Linked DNA regions of Homo sapiens: all the other regions are linked to region 2. Evidence: promoter capture Hi-C in 16 types of primary human blood cells and fetal thymus (Javierre and others, 2016). All regions are on one chromosome and are shown on one strand. The core of a region is centred on a gene start or on the middle of the fragment in contact, and the rest is flanking DNA. Distances in the headings are between cores, read along the strand shown.

Region 1 (3,030 bases), core at 26-2,525, 1.0 Mb before region 2:
GAGTGAGCCGATATCGCACCACTGCACTTCAGCCTGGGTGACAGAGCGAGACTCTGTCTCAAAAAAAAAGAATTGTATGATACGCTGATGAGGAGAGTATTGCTATCACCGAAGAAGTGGTAGCTTACATTTTAAAAAGCTTAGCCTGTCCACCCCCTACAGATACATTCTTTTCAAACCTAGGTCAGTTGAATTGGACTACATGTGTTTGTCACAGATAGGTTAGAGGCTGAGTAATCTTTGCCTTAGTCTCTTTTCCCTAAATTTATACCCTTTTCCCTAATTCCTAAACTTCCTTTGGACTGAACATACCTGGTGCTTGCTAGATTTGCTGAGTTCAGCATACCCCCCAGTCACACCACATCACGCCAGCCATAGGAGACAATTTCCGAAAGACCTGTAACAGTAGAGACCTGATCCACCAAAGGATTTGCTGTTATTTGCAATCTGTTTATGGTAACCAACACTTACCCCTTAGCACAGTAGTAATCCTGTGTCCTTAGAGAGTATTTTATCCCTGACTCAGGAGCTTCTCATTCTTTTTTTTTTTTTTTTTTTTTGAGATGGAGTCTTGTTCTGTTGCCCAAGCTGGAGTGCAGTGGCGCGATCTCTGCTCACTGCAAGCTCCGCCCCCCGGGTTCACGCCGTTCTCCTGCCTCAGCCTCCTGAGTAGCTAGGACTACAGGTGCCCGCCGCCAAGCCTGGCTAATTTTTTTATTTTTTAGTAGAGACGGGGTTTCATTCACCATGTTAGCTAGGATGATCTTGATCTCCTGACCTTGTGATCCACCTGCCTCAGCCTCCCAAGGTGCTGGGATTACAGGCGTGAGCCACCATGCCCAGCTGCTTCTCATTCTTAGAAATGAAGTTGGGCAGGGAAGCCTTAAGCATTTCTAGAGTGTGCCCCTTGTAGAACCTGATGAAAGCTATGGATCCTTTTCCCAGTAAAAAATACAAACACATTGACTCACATGACATTTTATGTTATTTCAGATCCTTTAAAAAGTTCTAAGGAACACACATGTACCTATTTCAGGATTTTATTACATGGCTAACATTCTCCTACCTTTTACTGTTTTTTCTGTTAATCCCAATGAGTGTTGCTGTTCTCTGGAGACAAAGAGGGGAGAATATCAAAAGCCAAAAAGTTCAGTTTTCTTAAGGATGATTTTATTTGTCATAATACCAGAAATTTTCAGGGGAATACTTCTCTGGTTTTGCAGTTAAAGTCAAAAGAAAAATAATTTTTTATATTTTCTTACAGTTAACTTTTCAGAAATGAATCTGTTCCATAGAATAAAGCCCACTGGCTTATTTTAAGGTACTTCTAAAAGGTCTTATTTTAACCAGATGTCATATATGTTCCGTATTTTAATTATTGAAAACATTTAAATGCAAAAGGTATTATAATTCAATTTTTGTTTATCATAATAATTTCAACTTGTATAACTTCACTGTCATATGATTTCATTTTCTTCTTGTTTTTATAGTGTATTCATTGCCTTCAAGAAAGCTGGTGGCTCTACAGTTAAGATCCATTTTTATTAAGGTTAGTATGTTGTAGTTTGCCTTTTTGTTTATTAAAGTGTAATGAGAAAATAAGTAACATTAGGGATTAAGATTCAAAAATTACTACTGTTTTTACCATATGTACAGTTAAGATCTGATTCTACAGAGAAATAATCTTACAATATTTCAGATGTGTTACTGTCTTTTCATGATTATATAGAAAGGAAGCAGGGCTTTTATCTTGAGTGTTAACATATTTTCAGTTCGGGTAGCATTGGTGAAAAAATGTAAGCATATTAATATTAGAGGTTTATTCCATTTGTATTACCTTTCAGCTGGTGGCATCTACATATAAACTATGTATATATCAAATTATGTATATGTCATAAAATATTCTGAATCCGACTTCTTTCCTCCTCCACTGCTGTCATTGAGTGCAAACCAGTGTCATCTTCATGCCCCTGACTAACTTGCTGATCTGCCTCCCACAAACAGCAGCACTGATGATCCTCTAAACGTACACCACATCACTACTCTCTTTGAAACCCTCCAGTGGCTTCTCCTCTCACTCAAAATTGTGATCCAGGAAAAGGGGCTCGCTTCCTGATGCACTGTGACACCAGGTTTTTGAGACAAGAAAGGCTTTATATTGCAAATTGACTCCCAAGGAGACAGGAGTCGACCTCAAATCTGCCTCCCTGTGCTGACTTCAAGGCAGTGTTTTTATTAGAAAAGGTTCAGAGGGTGGATTCTGAGATCAGTAGGTGAGCGATGGAAGGAAAGGGGACATCTGGAAGGTCCTTGGGCATGCACAGTTATCTCCTCATGCTAACTCATAGGGCTCATGTGCCAATTCAGGGGAATGAGTATGAAACGTGATGGAGAGTCAGCTTGCGACACCAGGAAGCTTGTTCTCTGCAGACTCTACTTGGCCATATTGGTTCCAACCAATTTCAGCCAGTTCTTTTATCCCATAAGGGGAGGAAGTTTCAGTATTTTACCAAGTAGTTTCTTATCTGCTACCCTGCAAACTCAATAATTTCTTTCTTTTTTTTTTTTTGAGACAGTCTCCTCTGATGCCCAGGCTTAAGTGCACTGATGTGATCTCAACTCACTGCAGCCTCTGCCGTCCTGGGTTCAAGTGATCCTCCTGCCTCAGCCTCTGGGATTACAGGGACACGCCACCACACTGGCTAATTTTTGTATTTTTAGTAGAGACGGGGTTTTGCCATGTTGGCCAGGCTGGTCTCCAACTCCTGCCCTCAAGTGATCCACCCACCTTGGCCTTTCAAATGCTGGGATTACAGGTGTAAGCCACGCCCAGTCCAAACTCAAGAATTTGTTAGTCATTGGTTTCTTTAACTCTTTGAGGATGGTTTCAAATTCACAGCCCTTACTGTGGCCTATGAGGCTGTATATCTGTGCTAATACAGTAGCCACTAGCTACATGTAACTATTTACAGTTTAATTCATAAATTTAAAATTCAGTTCCTCACGTTCCAAGTTCGCAGGAGCCCCATA
Region 2 (3,230 bases), core at 414-2,913:
TCCTGAGTAGCTGGGATTACAGGCACGCGCCACCACGCCTGGCTAATTTTTGTATTTTTAGTAGAGACGGGGTTTCACCATGTTGGCCAGGCTGGTCTCAAACTCCTGACCTCGTGATCCAACCGCCTCGGCCTCCCAACGGCTGGGATTACAGAAGTGAGCCACTGCACCCGGTGTTTAAAAACATTAAAACATGTTTTTAAAAGTCAAAATTACACTCATTTTCTGTAAAATTACAACAGCAATTATCTCAAGAAACTTAAGCATCAGGAACAGGGAATGTAATTGCCTGGTTCTAATGCTTGTATATGCCTATAATGCATTCGATCTGTAAGACCTACACTTTTGCAGTTGTCAATATTCATGTAATGAGATTAATTCTCAACTTACCTCATTTCATATAATAACAAATACAAGCAGTCATCAGAAATTGATGGGTCATCCTTATTTGTGAAAAATAGGCCTCATTCTTGGTTCAAAGTTTGTAACCTCAAATGGGCTAATGCCCACAATTTAGAAGTGATTAGATTGGAAAGCACAACGCTGCAAATGCTGCCTTCCCCAAAGCCAGGTCTATTCATTAATATACCTGTGCCTACTGACAAGAAGGAAGGCTGGTAAAGCACATTTTCAAAGCTGTTTTAAATGGATCAATTTTGGTAAAGAGTAATTCAAGACGGATTGTAAATCTGATCAGTTTTACAACCTTGGAAGGTGGGGACTTGACGCACGACGTTAATATGCACACGCTTCAATAATCTATCCACAGGTAGTTTTGACCCTGATCTCAGGTTGAAAGTCCTCAACTATGGAGCTTTCGAGTTTCAGTACAGTAGGCGCTTTCACTCCCCAGTAGAAATCTGGGGTGATGGCCAAAAAAAGTGTGTTGTCTCCCCCAAACCACACCATGCCAAGTTCAGCCAACGCAGACTAATGCATCCTTAGGTATTTGTCAAGAAGAGGTATAGGCGGTCCCTTTTCTCAGAATCTAACAGGTAAGAATGGCCTCTTGTGGCTTCCCAAACACGGCGGTAAGGACCAGTCTGCCAGTCCCTAATAAGAAATTGCTAATTTTAAAAACCATTCCGAACGCGGGCGCTTCCGGGCCCCTCTTCAACTGGCTTCGGAAGAAGGGGGGAGAACACGGTGAAGGGTTACAGCAAAGGAGGCTGAAAAACAGTCCCAAAGCAAGATTTGCCAGGACACTGGCTCGACCCGGAAGGGCGGGGGGACCTCTCTCGGCCGCCGGGGTCTGTGGGGTCGGCGAGTGTGGACGACCCGTCTGGCAGTCGTACACTGCCACAGCCCGAAGAGCGGCGCACGCGGAGCAGTTGCCGGGTTCGCGCCGCGAGTCAGCTCCCGGACACACGCCCAGGGTTGAAGGTGCCCTCTAGACCCCTCCCGCTGCCCCACAGAGGCCTGGGCCCATGCTACCTCTTAGGACGCTGGAGCCGCCGCCGCCGCTTCCCGCCGCGCAGGCTGGACCACAGCTCCTCGGATGCCACGGCGGTGTCACTCAGCAGAGCAGCCCGACAAAGCGTGGGTCCGCGTGCAGGAACCCGCCGGGCTCAGCCGGACGCTAGCCCCCTGCCGCCCCCGGCCCCGCCAGCCGCGCCCACTAGCAACGTGCTCGCGACCTCCAGTGCCCGCTCAGTGAAGCTTCTGCATGCCGCGCGCGGCACGTCGGGACTCGTAGTTCCGGCGCGGAGGACGTGCGTCGCGGCACTCTCGCCTGACCGTCTCCACGTGACTCTCGCACCTCCGGAAGTGACGTAAGCAGACACGCGTGGCGCGGGCCGCCGTTTCCGCAAACAGAATCGCGTTTGGCTGTGCTGGTGAGTGTGACGGCTGGAACTCCGGCCCTTCCTTTCTTTGTGTTTGTCCCTCGGCCGCCGTGGAGGGGTGGAACTGGCACTCCCACCCCTGACATGGGCTCACTTCGCATTAGCCCTGTGCTTCACTACCCAACGCGTGGGTCTATTGCCTTGTGTCCTCAGTCCCAAGGAAAATGGGAACTCCTTGGGGTGGGCGGGCGCTGTTCCTCCTCCAGACTGGGCGAGCCCGGGTGGGAGAAGCAGCTCGAAGAGCTGCTCCAGCTCGCGCCCCAGGGCCGTGCTGGGGAGGGGCGTGGGGTCCGCAGGTTTGTCTTCAGCGGCGCTTCGGAAACCTGAACCAGAGGTTGAGTAACAGGCCGCGCTAATGACGGAGGGGGTGAACTTGGCTGGAGAAGTCCCTTCTCGCCTCTGTGCGTCCTCTCGGGCCCCGTGGTAGAGGGTCAAGCGGGCGGGTCGGGACTTAGAGCTTATCCCGCTTGGGCTTTATCCCGGCGGCCCTGGCGGCCTGCTCGCTCGTACCCTGAGGAGCTGAAATGACGCAGAGACATAGCTTGCTTCGGAGGTGTGACTGGAAAGCCGGGTCGAAATGTTCGTGTGGTTATTTATCGCGTGTCCATCTCCATGTCAGTCGACCACCTTTCGAAGGTTTCTTGAAGATTCTGAGGGACAGCTCTCTTCCCTATGGAGTGTTTTCATTATTCCACTTTGAGTTTGGTTTGGGTTTTTTTTCCCCCAATTTGTTAAATTGATACATAGAAGTTGCACATATTTGCAGGTGCAGGTGATACTTTGATACATGCATACAATGTGTAACGACTAAATCAGGGCAATTGGGATATTTGTCATCTCAAACATTTATCTTTATGTTGGGAACATTCCAATTTTTCTTTTAGCTATTTTGAACTACACAATAAGTTATTGTTAACTGTGTCCACCCCACTGTACTATCAGGCACTAGATTTTATTTCTTCTGGGGTTTTTTGTACCCATTAACCAATTTCTCTTCTTCATCCCGCTCCTCTTCCTGCTACCCTTCCCAGTCTGTGGTAACCACCAATCCACTCTTTACCTCCATCAGGTCCACATTTTTAGCTCCCACATGAGTAACAACATGATATTGTCTTCATGTGCCTGGCTTATTTCAGTTAACATAATGACATCCGGTTTCATCCATGTTGTTGCAAATGACAGGATTTCATTCTTTTTAATGACTAATATTCCATTGTGTATATATGCTACATTATCTTTATTCATCTGTTGATGAACGCTTAGGTTGATTCCATATCTTGACTATTGTGAATAAACTTGAGACTGCAGATATTTCTTAGATATACTGATTTCCCTTCTTTTGGATCTGTACCCAGATTTGCAAAACTGTTCATCGGACAGGGGATT
Region 3 (2,946 bases), core at 425-2,924, 1.0 Mb before region 2:
CAAGTCAGCAGATAATGAGAACCTCCAAACTAAAGACTGGCAAGAACTAAACATGGATGGCAAATCCAATGTGAAGGAATGAAAAAATCTGCCGATCTTTTAAGACCCAGGAAGAAAGTAATTCATCAGAGACCTGACAGTGGAATTAGGGAAAAAAGCCTCTCCAAACACACTCTAAAAGTGGCAAGCACTTCTACCCTGAGAGAACAGAGCAGAAAAGACATAAGCAGCAAGCTTTCAATAAACGCCTGCGAAAGAACGTTAAAATCCCATCCCACTGAGGTTGCACTTTACTCTTTGATCTTCTTCAGCTTTATCCTGTAATTCTTTTTTTTTTTTTCTTTTTTTGAGATGGAGTCTTGCTCTGTTGCCCAGGCTGGAGTGCACTGGTGCGATCTGGGCTCACTGCAAGCTCCTCTTACCGGTTCACGCCATTCTCCTGCCTCAGCCTCCCGGGTAGCTGGTACTACAGGTGCCTGCCACCACGCCCGGCTATTTTTTTTTTTTGTATTTTTAGTAGAGGCGGGGTTTCACCGTGTTAGCCAGGATGGTCACGATCTCCTGACCTTGTGATCCGCCCGCCTCGGCCTCCCAAAGTGCTGGGACTACAGGCGTGAGCCACCGGCCTATCCTGTAATTCTTATGCTGTCTCAATAAATGTTCATCGTATTTCCTAAACTAGACTACAGATTCTGCTAGGAAAACAATCTTGTCTTTATTTTCTTCCTCATCCTTTTTGTGAACCTTTGAGTGCTAATCTAGAAAGTAATAAATGGTAATTTTCTAAAAATAGAGTGCTTTCTAGGATCAACAGGTAAATATACTACTATGAAAACAAACACACAAAAAAAGAGAAACTCATAAGTATTTACCTGTGTGTTCACTACTTCTTGAGATAACGTTTGATTGAGTGGTGGATACATTTCAAGTTTTATATTTAAAATTCCCACAGAAACTTTTGATTCTGTGCCTATAAACATAAATATTTTGAACTTCAGAGATTTCAATACTATATATATTTAGTCAACCAAAGTCTAACCAAAATAATTTAGGCACTTGGGTGTTTTATCACTTACATGGAATAAAGATAACATTCAACATTACCTTTAATATTCATATTAAAATGAACCAAATCAATTTTTTTAAACAAAGGTGTTTAATTATAAGGAGATTATTTTCTTAGCTTTCTGACACTCTTTTTCTTCTTTAAGTAGAGATGGGGTCTCCCTATGTTATTCAGGTTGGTCTTAAACTCCAGGGCTCAAGTGATATTCCTGCCTCAGCCTTCCAAAGTGCTTGGTGGGATTACAGGCATGAGCCACTACACCTGGCTTTTCTAACAGGTTTTAAGAAACTTTTCTGACTTAAAGGATTTGAGACTCTTAATTTTTGTCTTAATTAAATGTATAATATCAACCAGACTTACATTAAATTCAAAGTCAAAGCAACTGTTAACACCTCATTCCTTCTCCACACACACACACACACACACACACACACACACTAAAAATTAGAAAGCATTTATATTGTCACTTATAGTAACTCCCATTTGTCACTCCCCATTATCCAATTACAGGCTGAGTAGAAATTTTCAATCCATGCCTGGATTTAAAGAACTAGAAAACAAATATACTTCACATCAAAACGATTTAATGTTTCTTCAGTGAATCAGAATCTGCTTGTTTCCAGGTCACTGCTACGATTATCATGTTAGGCCTATTTTTGAAGACAAATTGGGTATTGTTTTTGAAAATAAATTTCTTACATAAAGGACACTTTTTCTATAATTTTTATTTAAAGAAAAATACATTCTTGGTATGACTTATTAAAATCTAAATTACTGGCTGGGCGCGGTGACTCACGCCAATATCCCAGCACTTTGGGAGGCCGAGGCGGGCAGATCACGAGGTCAAGAGATCGAGACCATCCCGGCCAACATGGTGAAACCCCATCTCTACTAAAAATACAAAAATTAGCTGGGTGTGGTGGTGCATGCCTGTAGTCCCAGCTACTTAGCAGGCTGAGCCAGTATAATCGCTTGAACCCAGGAGGCGGGGGTTGCAGTGAGCCGAGATTGCAGCACTGCACTCCAGCCTGGTGACAGAGCGAGACTCCATCTCAAATAATAATAATAATAATAATAATCTAAATTACTAAGGCTATGCTGTCCACTGGCAAGGTTTAACTCTGTGACTAAGTTTAAAAACCAAAGTAATTCCATTATATGTTATAGATAAAACATTGGTAGGTTTTGTTTTCTCATTTTATTAGCAAGTATGTGTTACATAGCGGGCAGTGTGCAAGATTCCAAGGAGACTATGATAAATAAGATAGGCACCAGCTCTGCCCTCAAGGACTAGTTGATACTAACACTGAGCAAATTATTTCCTCTTCCGAGTCTCACTCACCCACACTGTAAAAGGTTGGGAGAACATCTACTCTGTATTTTGCAAGAATCACTGGTACCAAAGGGGATGTATTCCAGGGTGTGATGACTGGACACACATAAGTTTGTATGTGTGTCAAGAATATTAATTTTCTTTATAGCCTTATATTTAATCAAATGAACTTGAAATTAAAACCCTCAAAATTCCTGTATTCATTTTCCAGAAAAAAACATTTCTCCTAAGACAAGGTCAGATTGACCATGAAGTGCTATACTGATATTATTCTTCAAGACATTTCTCAAGATTAGGATGCTGAGGTCCAATTGTAACTCTAACGAAATTCTATTTTACAGGTTTCCCTCTTGGATTATAAAAGCATTTTAAAGATATAAAATATATTTACAAATGAACTGTGGCTATAAAAAGGTTAACAATGATATATTAATCACCATACCTACACCCATAAGTTCCACAGTCAGACTGGTCACTCCATTTTCTGAGCCCAAAACCGATCGCCATTCCAGAAAATATGATGCTACTAAAGTCGTCTCACCAAATA

Evidence for each region. The method cuts DNA at HindIII sites, captures the fragments that hold promoters and counts their contacts. A CHiCAGO score of 5 or more calls a contact.
Region 1: a fragment that was not itself captured here is called in contact with the fragment with the promoter of FAM210A in region 2 in 2 of 17 cell types (activated CD4 T cells and naive CD8 T cells); the score reaches 6.4 in activated CD4 T cells.
Region 3: a fragment that was not itself captured here is called in contact with the fragment with the promoter of FAM210A in region 2 in 5 of 17 cell types (fetal thymus, activated CD4 T cells, naive CD8 T cells and 2 more); the score reaches 6.9 in fetal thymus.

What each region holds. Positions count from the first base shown.
Region 1 is chr18:12,711,212-12,714,241 of GRCh38, forward strand. It overlaps PSMG2 (proteasome assembly chaperone 2), which reads left to right. Exons shown (of 7, transcript NM_020232.5): 3 at 1,491-1,549. Among named protein-coding and RNA genes, the nearest start is that of PSMG2, 9.7 kb to the left of the region's middle. The HindIII fragment of the contact is 2,277 bases long and covers 138-2,414 here.
Region 2 is chr18:13,724,895-13,728,124 of GRCh38, forward strand. FAM210A (family with sequence similarity 210 member A) reads right to left here and starts at 1,664. Exons shown (of 4, transcript NM_152352.4): 1 at 1,435-1,664. RNMT (RNA guanine-7 methyltransferase) reads left to right here and starts at 1,779. Exons shown (of 12, transcript NM_003799.3): 1 at 1,779-1,835. RefSeq lists an enhancer at 842-1,767. The HindIII fragment of the contact is 3,253 bases long and covers 1,658-3,230 here.
Region 3 is chr18:12,694,382-12,697,327 of GRCh38, forward strand. CEP76 (centrosomal protein 76) reads right to left here. Exons shown (of 12, transcript NM_024899.4): 5 at 2,842-2,946; 6 at 873-970. It also overlaps a transcript of PSMG2 not described here. Among named protein-coding and RNA genes, the nearest start is that of CEP76, 6.9 kb to the right of the region's middle. The HindIII fragment of the contact is 2,884 bases long and covers 233-2,946 here.